Linked DNA regions of Homo sapiens: regions 2, 3, 4, 5 and 6 are each linked to region 1. Evidence: promoter capture Hi-C in human tissues and cell types (Jung and others, 2019). All regions are on one chromosome and are shown on one strand. The core of a region is centred on a gene start or on the middle of the fragment in contact, and the rest is flanking DNA. Distances in the headings are between cores, read along the strand shown. Region 1 holds the start of SERINC4 (serine incorporator 4). Region 2 holds the start of CTDSPL2 (CTD small phosphatase like 2). Region 3 has its middle 4.6 kb from the start of TRIM69. Region 4 overlaps CTDSPL2 (CTD small phosphatase like 2). Region 5 overlaps SPG11 (SPG11 vesicle trafficking associated, spatacsin). Region 6 overlaps GOLM2 (golgi membrane protein 2).

Region 1 (2,700 bases), core at 201-2,700:
TGTGCCACCAAATATACTGACTCCGCTTGTTTCAGGAAACAACCCAAATTAAGCAGAATAGCCTCCCCTCCGCATACACTAGTTAGGCACTACCACTCACTATTAGCTCCAGATCTTCCTTCTTGATAGTGACTTTTGCCAGTTCTTTCTCCCTGCAAAAATATTTAAATATATTAGTCCTCATTCTCAACCAACACCATAAACTCCCAGGAAGGGTCATTCCCAGAAGTGCCCTGTAAATAAATCTTGATAAACCCTTGATTGAAAATAAAAACTCCCACTAATACTCCTTTCCCCTGGAGTCTTGGCAGCAGGTGTTGCCAGGAGGCCTTCTGCTAACAAGAGTAAAGTTGTGGCGCCTAGATCTGCAGGAATTGGTGATAAATTTGAAGAACGGTATAAAGGCTTAATAATGGTTTTTATTTTTGTCTGGGGACCGGGGAGGGAAGAACTGTTAAAGTTGGCTGCCCCTGAAGACTTACCGCTCCTGTTTGGCTTTCTGCTCCCGGGACCTTCTGTCTCCAATCACAGACATGGCCTATGGGAAAGGCAGGTCTAGTTACTGCACCGCTACCCACAATTCCCAATAATCTAAAAGGCCAACAAAACAAGCGGTTCATGCATGGATTCACGATGACAAGTGTTACCAGGTAGCAAGGACTATGTTTAATTCCATTCTATGCACCTGAGGTCCCCTTAAGCCCACTATCAAGCTCCTTTAGGCAAGCGGCGCGCTCCGGTGACCGCTGTTTCCCTCGGCTCTACCCTATTGCCTCCTCCTGCCAACGGGATCAGAACCCCGTCTTGGAGCGCTGGCTTCCAGCTACAGCCTCAGAGCCCCCCTCTGCTCTCAGCCCGCCCCGACATGCTCTTGGCCAACCTTACCGTCTCCAGATTGGAACTCTGGATCTCCTTCTCCTCTGCATAGTCGGTGACCCGCTCCAAGTCCGCCGCACCGCTGTCATGTTTCCGTGGCTTCTCCGGAGGCCGCTCTGGTCCACTGGTCTCAGTCTCCAACTCCAGCTCCACATCCCCCTCGGTCGCCATATCTATTTCACCACGCCGCCGCATAAGCCCCACCTCACGCCGACTTCCGGCAACTGACACAGCTTCCGCCCGGGGAGGAGGCGGGGCTGGCCCTGGGCCACACCTTCTTTCTGCTCCAGTTCTAGAAGCTTCAGGGAGGAAGGCGGTTCGTCTCTCAGACTTCCTTTCGGGTTTGTACAGTGTTTTGTGCGAGGCCTTCTCTCAGACCTAACCCGACACCGCTCCAGCCCACCCCACCGATATCCTTAACCACCTCATAAACTAGGAATAGTCCCCTCAACACATAAACACGCACCCACCCACCTCAGGGAACTCCGTTCAACCTGAATGACGTCTAATCCTAAACCAATAAAGAATGCTAATCCACAGGGGGCCAGATAGACAAACTGCCCCCTAATCTGGAGAGAACAGCCTGAGTGGCCGCAGTGTTGAGGCCCTAAGGACAAAGCTCCTTCACAGGGCATTTGCATTTACCGCAACCTGGAGGTCAGTGTTCTCTTCCGGACGTCTCCATTCTGCCCGGGACCGGGTGCTCAGCCCCAACACAGTGGCAGTCCAATGGGCTGAGGACAGAAGCAACTGCTGCTCTCATCTGCCTTCCATCTGGTGGACCTAAGCCTAATCCCTGGGACAAGGATGGTGGGTGCCAAGGCCGGCCCCAGCCCCGGCACCTCCCTGGGCCTGGCACAGCAGCACAGCGGAGGCAGCAGTGTCCTAGTGAAAAGTCCCTTCTGTCAGGTGAGAGGGTGCGAAGGGGAGAGTGGCCGAAGCTGGGGAGGAAGACGTGCAGAAGCCAATAAAAACGACAGGCCTCTTTTCTCCTCTAATGTCGTTCTGGTTCGTTGCCCCAGGTATAATCTGTAAATCTCTCCCGCCATGTTTCCAGCCCCAGGTGTTTAGGTCGAGAGAAAGGTCAGATATCTCAAGCCTGCTTATAATGAAAGCCCTACTAAGTTGTCAGTGGGCGGCAATCCCAAATGGCTGGAATCAGCTTGAAACAGAACCTGAGTAAAAGGAAGAAAGGGGAAGGGGAAATTTTGGAATTCAACCTCCTGGGTTAACCTCACACATACATTAACGTATGCCTTTCCTCAGCAAGTCTCCACCTCGCTGCCTTGCATCTGCTCTACTCCCAGGTGTGCTGCTGTGGGCCTGCTCCTTGTGCCAGCTGCTGCCACTCTAGGTGGCCCTCTCTCACCGCATCCACTTGCAGCCGCCTGTTCTACATCCTCCTCCATGTGGGGGCCTCAGCAATCTGCTGCCTCCTGCTGTCAAGGACAGTAGTGGAAAGGGTGTGGGGCAAGACACACAGGGTAAGTGAGAGGGGGTCGGGTTGTCAGGTGGGAAGAGATAAAAGGAAAAACCCTAAGATAGAAAAGGTTTCGGTTGGGGGCAGGAGACAAATGAGTGGTCATACCCGTGACAAGTAGGTACCTTTCCATGCATTATGACTTGTCCTGCCATTTCTCTCACACACACTCCCAGATCCAGATGCCCTCGGGGTTGTGTGCCCACCTGTTTGGCCTCTCTGACTGTCCAGTGCTCAGTGGCTCTGGGGCTGTGTACCGAGTATGTGCAGGAACCGCCACCTTCCACCTGCTGCAGGCTGTGTTGCTGGTCCACCTCCACTCCCCCACCAGCCCGCGGGCACAG
Region 2 (2,700 bases), core at 52-2,551, 630 kb before region 1:
ATTACTTCTCTTTATGAACAATTGGTCTGCAATGTAATTTAAAAAAAAGGAAAGAAAAAGTAAAGAAATATAGTAAAACTAGCTTTAACACGCCATTTCCCTTTTCTAAGAATAAAAAATGGACCAGGAACGAAAATTTAAAACTGGGCGAAGAATGGGGAGACAAAGCAATCTACAATTTGAAAATTACACAGATAAATCCATCATTTCAAGTCACTAATTTGTATACCCACTGAAGAAATTCATCTTGGTACTGCGTTACCAGCATTAGGAAGATAAATCCCTGCCTCGGAGGAACATCTACTGAGTACGTTTCATTTCAGGATCTCAGGTAAGTTTACGAGCTCTTAGATCTCTTTAGGTTTCCCTAAGGTACGCTGAAGTGTTTAACATCATTCACACATCCAGCCACCACTAGGGTGAGAAGTAAATAAACAAGATTTACTTATGCAATTATTTACCACAGAACTCTGGTCAAGAATGCAAAAGTAAACACCCATACAGACATTTAAAATCCAAAGAAAGCAGAGAATATTAAGGATAATAAGGTTCACTCTTTAACTGACCACTGTGGAAACCAGACGCCTTCCACATGGACTGTTCTTTACTACCACTCCCGATTTGAAAAAGTAACAATGTCAACTCGAGATTTTAACAGTACAAAAGATAAACAGAACTTAGTCAAATCCCTTCTTCCAGATTCTGAAAAGGTGTTTATAAGAACTGAGATAAGAGCAACGCCCCCCTAAAAGCACCCTACTCCAAAGAATGAAATGCTGAAAACATGAGGTGGGCCAAAAAGGTTAAAAAAAGCTAAACTTCTAACTTAATTACCCAGAGGTTGGGGACTAGGAACTTGAGATCGGAGTGGGGGTGGGTAGCAAAGTGAAATCTAACCCCAGAAATCACAACGCAGGCCGCAACCTAAGAGGTGAAGCTGGCGGGAAGTGAGCTCCCTTTCTGTTCCCAGGGGAAAGTCCAGACAGGAGCGGCTCCGCACAGTGGACGTACGAGGCGCCAAAGAGTGCATGCCTACCAAGGCGCCAGAGCCGCTGGAGGACCAGGTTTAGAAGGGGAGGAGATCCCGGCAGACGGCCCTGGAAGAGGAGGAGGACTGAGATTGGAAGCAGCGGCGGCGTCTGGACGAAGGGGATTACCTAACTGTGACGACAGAGAAGTGTCCTCAGGCTCCGGCGATGGTCCCGACTGCGCAATGTGTGGTGTCTTTCCCGCTTACCCCGCAGCAGCAACAGAACCAGCTCCTTCAGCCAGTCGCCATTTCCCGCCTACCGACCTGCTGCACCGCACGGACAGGGACCCGGATGGAAAGCGGCCTCTCCGCGCAGGCGCCCTGACTTCCTCCTCCCCCTCCCGCCACAATTCCGCGAGGTGGGAGGGAAGGAATGCGGGCAGCCACAACGGCAACAACAACCAAAAAAACACTTTTACTTCCGTGAAGAGCGTTGAAGTTCCTTACGCCGGAAGAAACTCTCTAGTCTGAATCCTGGAGAAAAACTGAACACAAGGCCTTAGTACTGGGTCGATTAAGAAAGGACAAAACCTATCAGGATGAGCAAGGGCCTGGGGGATATTTGTACATTAGGGGCCTCCGTAGCCGGCTGTGTAGTGGTCGCAGGGGGAGTAGGGAGTAAAGCGTTAGGAGTGGAGAGGCGGGGACCCGAAGGACGGTTTTTCCTCCCGCTCCTAACGGAACTGCTTGGGCAGAGCTGGGAGGGGGAGCGCGCCCTTGCCCCGGAGGCGGGGCTTAGGAACGCGTAGTGCACCCTGGCGGCTAGGGTTTAGTAACTGTGGGCGCGCTGGGTAGGTGGAGCTGAGGGGATAAGGCGGGACTAACGGCTTGGCGCGCTGGAGGAGGTAGTTCGTAGGGAGAGCTGCCTGAGGCCGGGAGAAAGCGAATCTGGCGCCTTTCCTGGGATTTCGGTGGCCCTTGAAGGTTCCCTTTCCAGCTCATTGCCTAGAGGGCGTAGCAGTCGCTTTTGGATCATAAATATTCATGCCCTTCGACTCAACCCTATGTTGGCGGTGATTCTGCAGGTTGAAAACTCGGATCTTTCAGGCCAGTGGGCTCCCACCTGCGACCCTAGGTCAAAGGACGGTCAGCTCCACAGAGTGAAAATGTATCAGTCCAGAGAATCCAGTTCTAGTGGGGTATCGGAAAACCAAGCCTAGTGTTTGGAAGAACATTTTTCACTGAAACTCCAAGCCACTCTCCTTATTCAATCAAGAAATATTTATTGAAAAAATAACTAGGTGCGACGGGTAAAACAGTGAGCCAGGCAGACACGGATACTGCCTTCCCCAAAGGTAATGATTTTTTTTTTTTTTCGAGACGGAGTCTTCACTCTGTCGCCCAGGATGGAGTGCAGTGGCGCGATCTCGGCTCAAACCTCCACCTCCCGGGTTCAAGCGATTCTTCTGCCTCAGCCCCCCGAGAAGCTGGGATTACAGGCGCGCGCCACCACGACCGGCTAATTTTTGTATTTTTAGTAGAGACGGGGTTTCACCACGTTGGTCAGGCTGGTCTCGTACTCCTGACCTCGTGATCCGCCCGCTTCGGCCTCCCAAAGTGCTGGTATTACAGGCGTGAGCCACCGCGCCCGGCCAAAGATCATAATCTATTGAAGAAGACACCCAAGTAAACAGAATTTAAAAACTGATAAAGCGAATACAAGGATGGCA
Region 3 (2,700 bases), core at 111-2,610, 930 kb before region 1:
TAGTCAGTGGTCTTCTTATCAAGAGAAAGTGGCTGGGTGCGGTGGCTCACGCCTGTAATCCCAGCCCTTTGGGGGGCCGAGGCAGGCAGGTCACAAGGTCAGGAGATGGAGACCATCATGGCTAACACGGTGAAACCCCATCTCTACTAAAAATACAAAAAAATTAGCGGGGCGTGGTGGTGGGTGCCTGTAGTCCCAGCTACTTGGGAGGCTGAGGCAGGAGAATGGCATGAACCCAGAAGACAGAGCTCACAGTGAGCCGAGATCGGGCCACTGCACTGCAGCCTGGGCGACAGAGCAAGACTCTGACTCAAAAAAAAAAAAAAAAAAAAATTGCTTATCTCAGCTGGTGCTTGTTTAGCTGCTAAACAAAAAGAAAAACTGACAGGGCAGAACTCCGTCTCAAAAAATAAATAAATAAATAAATAAATAGAAAATCTTGTGGCAGTTAGAACATAGTTTATTCTTTAAGTGTAGGAGTGCATGACATAACACTTGCCTGGCATGACCTTAGATCTTACGAATAATTTGTTATTGCCACAAAGGGTCTATTCTGTCAGCCTTATGATCTTTATTTTGACATTAATGCTGGTCAGTTGTTGTGTCTAAACCATAAAAGAGACGGAGATATAATGAAGCGTGTCTGACCTCCCATCCCGTCATGGCCAGGAACTCAGTTTTAAGGTTTTTCTGGGGTCACTTTGGTCAAGAGGGGTTCCATTCAGTCAATTAGGGGGCTTAGGATTTTAGTTTACAACTTACTTCACCATCTCTAGGGTGTTGTCTTTATTTATGTGGTCCAGAATGTCCACATGTGGCCAACTAAAAATTGATGACTATAAGAAAGGGAAAGTTGCTTTAAGGACGACCCCAGTATCTGGCACACTCTGGCAACTGAAGTCCAGAGCTGAAGCATAAAACCAAAGGAAACAAAAAGCAGTCTCAGAGCATATGAGAAATCAAAGAGTTTCTTATATACTGCAGATAGCAATTTTAAAAATCAGTATTTTTAAGCTCAGAGCATTGGATGCCAACAACCCATAGTTCCTGCACAAAGACATGGAAAAATCCAGCCACAGGATCTGTCTTGAGCAATAAGGCATACATCATATATAACTGCAGTGATACTGATGGAGGCTGATTTTTTTCAAACAAACTGGGCAGTGTTAGTATGTGTAAAGGAAGTGCAGAAGCACTGACTACAGATGTGGCCACATTCTATAGAGTAGATGTGTTGTATACTAAGTTCAATCTCTGAGCATCCATCCATGCAAACTTGACACTGAATATAACCAGGTAGTATATGACAAAAAAAATTTTTTTGCAGGGAATTATGGTGGGCACTGTTGGTTATACATACATCTCTGTCCCTTTTCACTCCCTCCTCATCATTGTTCACCACACAACTGCCAGTGTGGTCTTGGAGTGGCCTTGTGTTTGCTCTTGGCCTCCTCCTTTGTTCAATAATCACTACAGAGTCACGGTGAGTTAGGTCAATCACTACAGGTGCTAGAGATTCACAGGTGAGGTCAACTACTTCATCACTTTCCCCAAGTTCTATCAGTTCTGCATCCAAGGCTATGTTAGGTGTTGGGCCTCCTTCTCTGGCTATAGGGAATGCTCAGGCTTGTCTGGAATTCACCATGCTGTCTCAGCTTATTATAGTATTCCATTGTGCTTTTTGGATTCAGTCTTAGAGAAGTAAATGATCTGTGCCAAGGTTTACAGCAGATATTAAAACTCTTCGATGTCTCACTGCTGTTGTTCAGTCACTCTCTGACTTATAAGAATTTAGAGGTCAGATTTCCCCACATATTTGAACCCTTATTCTGGGTCCAGTCCTGTCTTCACTTCCACAACTGCTGTGTTCCCACAGGGAGTGGATCTTCTGGGAGCCATTTGTAAGATAGTTCAATCTGAATTTTTAACTGAAAAAAAATGAGAGAAAAATTAAGCTTTAGTAATGTCTAAATCAAGACTGATAGTAGTGTATGTATAAAATGTATAGCTATATATAGAGAATGTATACAAAAAACTTTTTATAGTTATGCATTTGAACAAAATTTGGAGGCCACTGCTGTTGAAACTGAGTGCCCCTCCCTATTCTATGACCTGATGGTAGTGAGGAGGAGGAATCTAAGGGGCACTTACATGAAGAGAAGCACAATATCATTGAACACCCAAGAAAGGGTTACTACTTCAATTAAGAGCTTTCTCTTTCCTTTTTTTTTTTTTTGAGAAAGAGCCTCACTCTGTCACCCAGGCTGGAGTGCAGTGGTGCAATCTTGGCTCACTGCAACCTCCGTCTCCCCGGGGTTCAAGCAATGTTCATGCCTCAGCCTCCCATATAGCTGGAATTACAGGTGCATGGCACTACACCCGGCTAATTTTTGTATTTTTAGCAGAGATGGGGTTTTGCCATGTTGGTCAGGCTGATATCAAACTCCTGACCTCAGGTGATCTGCCTGCCTCGGTCTCCCAAAGTGCTGGGATCACAGGCATGAGCCACAGCGCTTGGCCCACTCACTCATTTTTTATAAAGTAAAAACGGGAGACCAAAAAATCTCCTTACATACTCCTAAAAGCAAATAAGAAATAAACCATTTACTCTACTTGCAGGTTCATCTTGCCCAGTGTTTTCTTTCTAACAGAGGCAACAAATGGAGTTCTGAAAAATTTATCCCAGATTGCCTTCTAGGA
Region 4 (2,700 bases), core at 91-2,590, 670 kb before region 1:
TAAAATAGAACAATTATCAGCATCACTAGTCTTGTACTCTGGGGCCATTATTAAGTAAAATAAGGATTAATTGAATACAAACAGAGTGGTATCTACACAGCTGATATGATAAACAAGAAAGCTACTAAGTGACTAACAGGAGTACAGCATATACATATGGATACTCGGGCAAAGGGATGATTAATGTCCCAGTTGTGATGGAGCAGGATGATGTAAGATTTTATCATGCTACTCAGAAAGGTGACTAATTTAAAACTTACCAATTATTTCTGAAATTTCCCATTTAATATTTTCAGACCCTGGCAACCACAGGTAACTAAAACTATGGAACACAAAACCAAAGATAGGGGGGAACTACTGTACCCGTGTCCAAAGCCATGTTCATTCATTTATGTAGCCGTCTACAGTGGCAGTTGAATAGTAGCTGCAACAGAGACAATATTGTCCACAAAGCCTAAAATATTTCTTACCTGAAATATTTATAGAAAATGTTTACTGATATCTGATTTAAGCTCTCACTTCAAGAAGCTACAAAAGTAAAAGTAAATCAAACTGAAAACAGAAAATACTGAAAATAGTGGAAATCAATTAAACAGAATGAACAGTTAATATTAAAAATCCCTTTGAACGAATAATGAAATTGATAAACCCAAGCAAGACTCATCAAAATAAAGATCAATAAATTATCTAGATCAGGAATGAAAAGAGGAGCACCATTACAAATTCTATAGACAGTATTAAATTAATAAATACCAACAAAATATGATGTCAAATAAATCAACTTAAATTCCTTAAAAACATGTATGACTAAAACAAGAAAGAGAAAAGCTAAATAATCTCATCTATATTAGAGAAACTAAATTACAGTAAAAGATACCCCACAAAGAAAATTCCAGTTACATTTTAGAAATCCCACTCCAGAATTCAACAGTGAATTCTGCCAAATATTTAAGAATGAAATAACACCAATCGAACACAAGCTCTTTCAGAAGAGGAGGAACAGTCCTCAACTTGTTTTATGGCACCAGCTTAATCTTAATCCCAAAATTTAAAAACATTACAAATCAAGACAAAACTACAGAAGAAATCCTCCATGAATACAGATACAAAAATTCTTAAAAAAAAATCCCCAGCAAATCAACTCCAAGTTACGATTTCCATTCAAAAAAAAATTTATGTACTACTCTACATTAAAAGAATAAGAGGGGCCTGCCACAGTGGCTCATGCCTGTAATCCCAGCACTTCGGGAGGCCGAGGCGAGTAGATCACTTGAGGTCAGGAGTTCAAGACCAGCCTGGCCAACATGGTGAAACCCCATCTCTACTAAAAATACAAAGAATTAGCCAGGCATGGTGTCACGTGCCTGTAATCCCAGTTACTTGGGAGACTAAGGCAGGAGAATTGCTTGAACCCAGGAGGCAGAGGTTGTGGTGAGCTGAGATCGCACCACTGTACTCCAGCCTGGGCGAGAGAGTGAGACTCCGTCTCAAAAAAAATAAAATAAATAAATAAATAAGAAAAGAATAAGAGAAATCTGAAGCCAAAAAGCCTTTGAGAAAACTCAACAACAAAATAAAAACATTTTACAAACAGGAATAGAAAAGAACTTCCACCAACTAATAAAAGATAACTAAGAAAAACATCTAGCTAACATCATACCTAATGGTAAAACAAATTCTCTTCCCCTAAGGACAAGGCAAGGGTGTTGTTCTCACCACTGCTACTGAACATGGTAATACAGATCCTAACCAATGTAATAAGTGAAGAAAAAAATAAGTCCCAGTGATGACAAAGGGTAAGCAAAACTCTCATTATTTGGCATATGACATAATTATATATGCATAAAACAAGACAGAACCCTAGTTCCTTTAGTGGAGAACAGTATTTAGAAACCAAGATCTGGGTGCTATGTGCACACAGTTCAGCAGACAGAGCAAGGCAATAGAATCATGTGCCATACAATGTTTCAGTCAACAGCAGACCACATATAGAACAGTGGTCTCGTAAGATTATAATACTCTATTTTTACTGTTTCTTTTCTATGTTTAGCTATGCTGAGAAACATAAATACTTAACATTGTGTTACAACTGCCCATGATAATCAGTACAGTAACATTATGTTTTGTTTTGTTTTGTTTTTTGAGACGGAGTCGCGCTGTGTCACCCAGGCTGGAGTGCAGTGGTGCAATCTCAGCTCACTGCAAGCTCCATCTCCCAGGTTCACGCCATTCTCCTGCCTCAGCCTCCTGAGTAGCTGGGACTACAGGCGCCCGCCACCATGCCCAGCTAATTTTTTTTTTTTTGTATTTTTAGTAGAGACGGGGTTTCACTGTGGTCTCGATCTCCTGACCTCATGATCCGCCCGCCTCGGCCTCCCAAAGTGCTGGGATTATAGGCATGAGCCACCGCGCCCGGCCAATCAGTACAGTAACATTCTGTACAGGTTTGTAGCCTAGGAGCAAAAAGCTATACCACATAGCCTAGATAAGTAGTAGAATACACCATCTAGATTCACATAAGTACTATGATGTTCACATGATGACAAAATTGCCAATTAGTGCATTTCAGATTGTCAAGTGACACATGACTAAATATAAATACATGCTTGTGTGTGTGGTGGTGGGAAGAGAATGAATGAATATGAATGAATCTTAAACTGTCGTTTCCTCCATAAATTCCACCAGTTAGTCTGAGCTGAT
Region 5 (2,700 bases), core at 1-2,500, 780 kb before region 1:
TGCAGTGGCGCGATCTCCGCTCGCTGCAAGCTCCGCCTCTCGGGTTCATGCAATTCTCCTGCCTCAGCCTCCCGAGTAGCTGGGACTACAGGTGCCCACCACCATGCCCGGCTGAATTTTTTTTTTTTTTTTTTTTTGTATTTTTAGTAGAGATGGGGTTTCACTGTGTTAGCCAGGATGGTCTTGATCTGACCTTGTGATCCGCCCGCCTCTGCCTCCCAAAGTGCTGGGATTACAGGCGTGAGCCACCACGCCCAGCCTCATTGGTCTTTTTAAGTTATTTAAAATCTTAGCTTTTAAAATCAGCATTAAACAGTAAATCAAATGAGATGTATAATTTATAGGAGATAAGACTTTTTTTTTTACTTTTGACACACACATTACTTTCAGAAATGGATGAGCCTACAATTCCCATGATTGAGAAATGTGTGCTGCAAATGTAACATTAGTTTGTAGGATATGCTACAACTATTTTCCTTTGAATAGAATTAAATATAAGGGGGCTTCCACTTAAACCCCATTCCATGAGATCAATCAAGAATTGTTTTTCATACCATAACTTTCCAGATAAAATATCTAGGGTCATCTGTAGCCAAATCTCTGTTCTCTGATTTGATTTGGTTTTAACAAGTATGATAAGGCCAGGTGCAGTGGCTCATGCCTATAATCCCAGCACTTTGGGAGGGCAAGGCAGGAGGATTGCTTGAGCCCAGGAGTTTAAGACCAGCCTGGGCAACATAGGGAGACCCTGTCTCTACAAAAAATTAAAAATTAGCCAGGCATGATGGCACACACCTGTGGTCCCAGCTACCTGGGAGGCTGAGGTGGGAGGATCTCTTGGGTCCAGCAGGTTGAGGCTGCAGTGTGCTGTGATCGCCACCACTGCTCTCCAGCCTGGGTGACAGACTGAGACCCTGTCCAAACAAGTATGATATACTTAGGGAACATTAGCATTTATGATACTTTTTTATCCAAGAAAGGCTAAAATCTGCTTTGTTAAATTTCACAGATAACACAGGAAATGCAGACCCTAAAACACATTGAACAGTGGTCACTAAAACAAGCAAGAATTGACTTCTGGAAAAAATGCCATGAGAATTTTAAGAAAAATTCAATTTCAAGCAAAGCAGCTTCTTCCTTTTTCTCAACCCAGGCCCATGTGGCATGTGAGCACCCAACTGGATGGAGCAGCATGGAGGAGCGCCATCTGCTGCTCACCTTGGCAGGGCACTGGCTTGCCCAGGAGGACGTGGTGCCCTTGGATAAGCTGGAGGAGCTGGAGAAGCAGATCTGGCTGTGCCGCATCACCCAGCACACTCTTGGAAGAAATCAGGAGGAAACAGAGCCCAGATTTTCTCGACAGATCTCAACTAGTGGTGAACTTTCCTTTGATAGTTTAGCCAGTGAGTTTTCCTTCTCCAAGTTGGCTGCTCTGAACACATCAAAATACTTAGAACTTAACAGCCTTCCATCCAAAGAGACATGCGAGAATAGATTGGATTGGAAAGAGCAGGAGTCACTAAACTTTTTGATTGGGCGCCTACTGGATGATGGCTGTGTGCATGAAGCAAGTAGAGTATGCCGGTATTTTCATTTTTATAATCCAGATGTCGCCTTGGTATTGCACTGCAGAGCACTGGCCTCAGGGGAAGCTAGTATGGAGGATCTGCACCCAGAGATCCATGCTCTCCTACAAAGTGCTGAGCTGCTTGAGGAAGAAGCACCCGACATTCCCCTAAGGAGAGTCCACAGCAGTAAGTGAAGGAGATCAGATGGCCCAGAGTCTTAAATGGCACTGTTAGCACTGTCTCCAAGAAGGAAGGGACCCTTGTGGCAGAATAGTTCTACCAAGTTAAGGGGACAACAACTTTTTTCCAGGTAATCTGTAGACTAGCCAATTAACTAGGCAATGAAATAGAAAGATCTATGTCTTTTAAACTAGCTATGTTTCAAAGTTAAAGGGAATCTATCTGATTTGTAGCTAGTTCACTGAAATTTATTCTACATATTCTATACATCTGTAAATTTAATCATTTCCAGTCTTACATTGATAGTATATAGAAATATGGCTTTTTGTTTTTCTTTTTGGTTTTTTGTTTTTTGTTTTTTGAGATGGTGTTTCATTCTTGTCGCCCAGGCTGGAGTGCAATGGTGTGGTCTCAGCTCACTGCAACCTCCGCCTCCCAGGTTCAAGTGATTCTCCTGCCTTAGCTTCCCAAGTAGCTGGGATTACTGGCTAATTTTTGTATTAGTAGAGACCGGGTTTCACCATGTTGGCCAGGCTGGTCTCGAACTCCTGACCTCAGGCGATTCGTCCACCTCGGCCTCCCAAAGTGCCGAGATTATAGGGCGTGAGCCACCGCACCCGGCCAGAAATCTGTTTTTTATGTTACCTTTATATGACTTTGTTAAACTTGCTTATTCTAGGAGATTTCTTGTAGATTCCTCAAGATTTTCTACATAGACATTCATGTCATCTGCAAATAGAGTTGTATTTCTGCCTTTCCAATCTGTATGCCTTTTATTTCTTGTTCTTGCTTTATTGCACTGACTAGGCCTTTCAGTACTGTGTTGGATAGGGGTGGCGAGAGTGGACATCTGTACCTTTTTACTGACCTTAAAGGGAAATTATTTGATCTTTCATCATTTAAGTATGGTATTAGCTGTAGGTTTTTGAAGACAGGCTTTATCATGTTGAAA
Region 6 (2,700 bases), core at 134-2,633, 520 kb before region 1:
CACATTGATCAGGCTGGTCTCAAACTCCTGACTTCAGGCGATCCACCCACCTCGGCCTCCCAAAGTGCTGGGATTATGGGCGTAAGCCACGCACACCCAGTCCCAATTTGCAATTTTAAAAAGTCAATCTGGCTGCAACATGAAGAGTAGACCAGAGTGGGCAAGATGAGAAGGAGGGAGACCAAGTACTACTGCCATATCATAGGTGAGAATGTTGGTCTAAGTCAGAGGTGGGCAAACTATGGCCTGTGAGCCTGTTTTTGTAGGGAAGGAAGCTAAGGATGACTGTTACATTTTTTTTTAAATAGCTGAAGGAAAAAATCAAAAGAAGATTTTATGATATATGAATTACATGAAAATGAAACTTCAGTGTCTACAAATAAAGTTTTATGGGAAAATAGCCACACTAATTTGTTTACATATTGTATGTGGCTGCTTTTGAGCTACAGTGGTTGTGGCAGAGACTATATGGCCTGCAAAGCCTAAAGTATTTACTATCTGGACTTTTACAGAAAAGGTCTTTTCAATTTCTGGTCTAAACTAATAGAATCAGAAAAGAGAGGTAAATACATGTGAGATATTAAAGGGGAAGAATAGTCTTGTGGAATTGATTATATACAGGCGTAAAAGGAGAAACATCAAGTATGATGCTTAGATTTCTAATCGGGGTGACTAGATGAGTAAGAATATAATTTTCTGTAATAGGGAAACACAGGAAGAGGAACAGACTTGGGGTCAGGGAGAGAATTGGGGAAATGATTTTTTGAGATTTTGACCTATTGATTTTGAGGCATCTGTGACATATCCAAGAAGAGATCTTCAGTAGGCAGTTGGACATATGGAGCTCGGGCGACGACCAGAGAGCCATTCACATTCAAATGGTAATCCAGGTCATAGGAATGAGATCACTGAGGGAAAGCTACAGGGGAAGCAAAAAAAACCTGACACCAACAACTACAGTATTTGATCAGTTTGCTCACTCAGAACTGCTCCGTAATAACTTCCAATTAGCCTGTATTTTACTTTGTTTCCCAATTCCTTCATTTGCAGAACCTAATCTCTTTTTGTACTTGTTGCCCTTCCAAGAACATCATCTTCCTTTGTATTCATTTTCAACACTTTGGTTTTTTATTTAAAAAAACACTTTTTTTGAGACAGGGTCTTGCCCTACTGCCCAGGCTAGAGTGCAGTGGCATGACCACAGCTCACTGCAACCTTGATTTCTCAGGCCCAAAAGATCCTCCCACCTCAGCCTCCCAAGTAGCTGGGACCACAGGCATGTGCTACCACGCCCAGATAATTTTTTTTGTCTTTTGTAGAGATGGGGGGGTCTCACTTTTTTAAATCAATTTTTATGATGCTATGCCAGGTTCTCTGTACTCCATTTTAAATCTGCTTCTGAAATTGGTAGAGGTATGCTCTTCTTAAATATTAGGCTGTGAGTGGCTTCAGCTTCCCTGAACTGTCTCTTTCATATTCTTATACATTGGAAAAAAATTCTAATGGAGGTGGGGAAATTCAATCTATAGTTGAATATATATATTCAGCCTGGGTCCCTCTGTCACCCAGGGTGGAGTGTAGTAGCACAATCTCAGTTCATTGTAACCTCTGCCTCCCAAGCCCATGTGATCCTCCCACCTTAGCCTCCCGAGTAGCTGGGACCACAGGCACAGATGACCACTCCTGGCTAAATTTTTGTATTTTTGGTACAGACAGGGTTTTGCCATGTTGCCCAGTCTGGTCTTTTAGCTCTTTTTTGTTTTTTTTTTTTTTGAGACAGAGTCTCACTCTGTTGCCCAGCCTGGAGTGCAGTGGCACAATCTCGGCTCACTGCAACCTCCACCTCCCGGGTTCATGCCATTCTCCTGCCTCAGCCTCCTGGGCAGCTGGGATTACAGGCGCCTGCCACCACGCCCAGCTAAGTTTTTGTATTTTTAGTAGAGACGGGGTTTCACCCTGTTGGCCAGGCTGGTCTGGAACTCCTGACCTCGTGATTTGGCTGCCTCGGCCTCCCAAAGTGCTGGGATTACAGGCGTGAGCCACCGCGCCGGGCCAGCTCTTTAACTCCTTTGGCTTTAACCCTTCCTCTGAGAGCCTTCATTTAATATCTCCACCACCATCCCCTCACCTTCAAAAGAAAGCTTAACTTCCCTTCTAACTATTCCTTCTCATAGTTCACTGTTTTTTCATTTTTTTTAGAGATGGAGTCTCACTGTGTTGCCCAGGCTGAACTCGAACTCAGTAGCTGTGACAACAGGCTCAGGCCACCACACCCAGCTCTCTCCTCACAGTTTTAATTTCCTTGTGGTCATTAGGAATATGCTTATCTTCTAAATGACTGCCAAAACGTCCCTGCTGTTGAGAAATTAATTGGAGTTCTTACTATTACATGACTAGAAAAAGAGATTATCTTCATTTTGCCACACATATTCTCTGTTGAACTGATCATGCTTCCAGAATATTTTCACTTTTTTTCTAAATATATTCCACACAGGTAACAGCACATAAACTTCCTGATACCCATAAACACTGAATAAATGTTTGCTCAATGATCCCCTAGACTTTTATGTCCCATACTCTTTGTACTACACACTCTCCTACCTTAAGTTATACTTTATCCATATTTGCACAATTTTAATTATTCTTCAAGGTTTCTTTTGAGCGCCTTCATTTATTTCCCCTTGTTATCGCCGTCATTGC

The links. Contacts are between HindIII fragments. The study calls those that stand out against the background at their distance.
Region 2: the fragment with the promoter of CTDSPL2 here is called in contact with the fragment with the promoter of SERINC4 in region 1 in 1 of the 25 tissues and cell types used here (dorsolateral prefrontal cortex).
Region 3: a fragment that was not itself captured here is called in contact with the fragment with the promoter of SERINC4 in region 1 in 1 of the 25 tissues and cell types used here (dorsolateral prefrontal cortex).
Region 4: a fragment that was not itself captured here is called in contact with the fragment with the promoter of SERINC4 in region 1 in 2 of the 25 tissues and cell types used here (hippocampus and mesenchymal stem cells).
Region 5: a fragment that was not itself captured here is called in contact with the fragment with the promoter of SERINC4 in region 1 in 1 of the 25 tissues and cell types used here (heart right ventricle).
Region 6: a contact is called between a fragment that was not itself captured here and the fragment with the promoter of SERINC4 in region 1, in 1 of the 25 tissues and cell types used here (dorsolateral prefrontal cortex).

The regions. Positions count from the first base shown.
Region 1 is chr15:43,798,970-43,801,669 of GRCh38, reverse strand. SERINC4 (serine incorporator 4) reads left to right here and starts at 1,450. Exons shown (of 12, transcript NM_001258031.2): 1 at 1,450-1,785; 2 at 2,184-2,360; 3 at 2,533-2,700. The coding sequence starts at 1,684. It overlaps HYPK (huntingtin interacting protein K), which reads right to left and starts at 1,071. Exons shown (of 4, transcript NM_016400.4): 1 at 886-1,071; 2 at 483-538; 3 at 101-152. The coding sequence starts at 1,047. It overlaps SERF2-C15ORF63 (SERF2-C15orf63 readthrough), which reads right to left. Exons shown (of 6, transcript NR_037673.1): 3 at 886-1,175; 4 at 483-538; 5 at 101-152. RefSeq lists enhancers at 795-1,044, 952-1,652, 1,653-2,353. The HindIII fragment of the contact is 6,811 bases long and covers 1-2,700 here.
Region 2 is chr15:44,426,230-44,428,929 of GRCh38, reverse strand. It overlaps CTDSPL2 (CTD small phosphatase like 2), which reads right to left and starts at 1,301. Exons shown (of 13, transcript NM_016396.3): 1 at 1,158-1,301. It overlaps LOC124903479 (a long non-coding RNA gene), which reads right to left. Exons shown (of 3, transcript XR_007064605.1): 3 at 2,613-2,636. RefSeq lists enhancers at 577-1,183, 1,248-1,627, 1,184-1,791, 1,908-2,137, 1,792-2,399. The HindIII fragment of the contact is 11,921 bases long and covers 1-2,700 here.
Region 3 is chr15:44,730,591-44,733,290 of GRCh38, reverse strand. It overlaps the pseudogene RNF4BP. Among named protein-coding and RNA genes, the nearest start is that of TRIM69, 4.6 kb to the left of the region's middle. The HindIII fragment of the contact is 3,243 bases long and covers 1-2,700 here.
Region 4 is chr15:44,466,381-44,469,080 of GRCh38, reverse strand. All of the region lies in intron 2 of CTDSPL2 (CTD small phosphatase like 2), which reads right to left. Among named protein-coding and RNA genes, the nearest start is that of CTDSPL2, 40 kb to the right of the region's middle. The HindIII fragment of the contact is 6,187 bases long and covers 1-2,700 here.
Region 5 is chr15:44,582,868-44,585,567 of GRCh38, reverse strand. It overlaps SPG11 (SPG11 vesicle trafficking associated, spatacsin), which reads left to right. Exons shown (of 40, transcript NM_025137.4): 30 at 1,010-1,754. Among named protein-coding and RNA genes, the nearest start is that of EIF3J, 47 kb to the right of the region's middle. RefSeq lists a silencer at 1,124-1,173. The HindIII fragment of the contact is 6,491 bases long and covers 1-2,700 here.
Region 6 is chr15:44,315,828-44,318,527 of GRCh38, reverse strand. All of the region lies in intron 1 of GOLM2 (golgi membrane protein 2), which reads right to left. Among named protein-coding and RNA genes, the nearest start is that of GOLM2, 28 kb to the right of the region's middle. The HindIII fragment of the contact is 5,521 bases long and covers 1-2,700 here.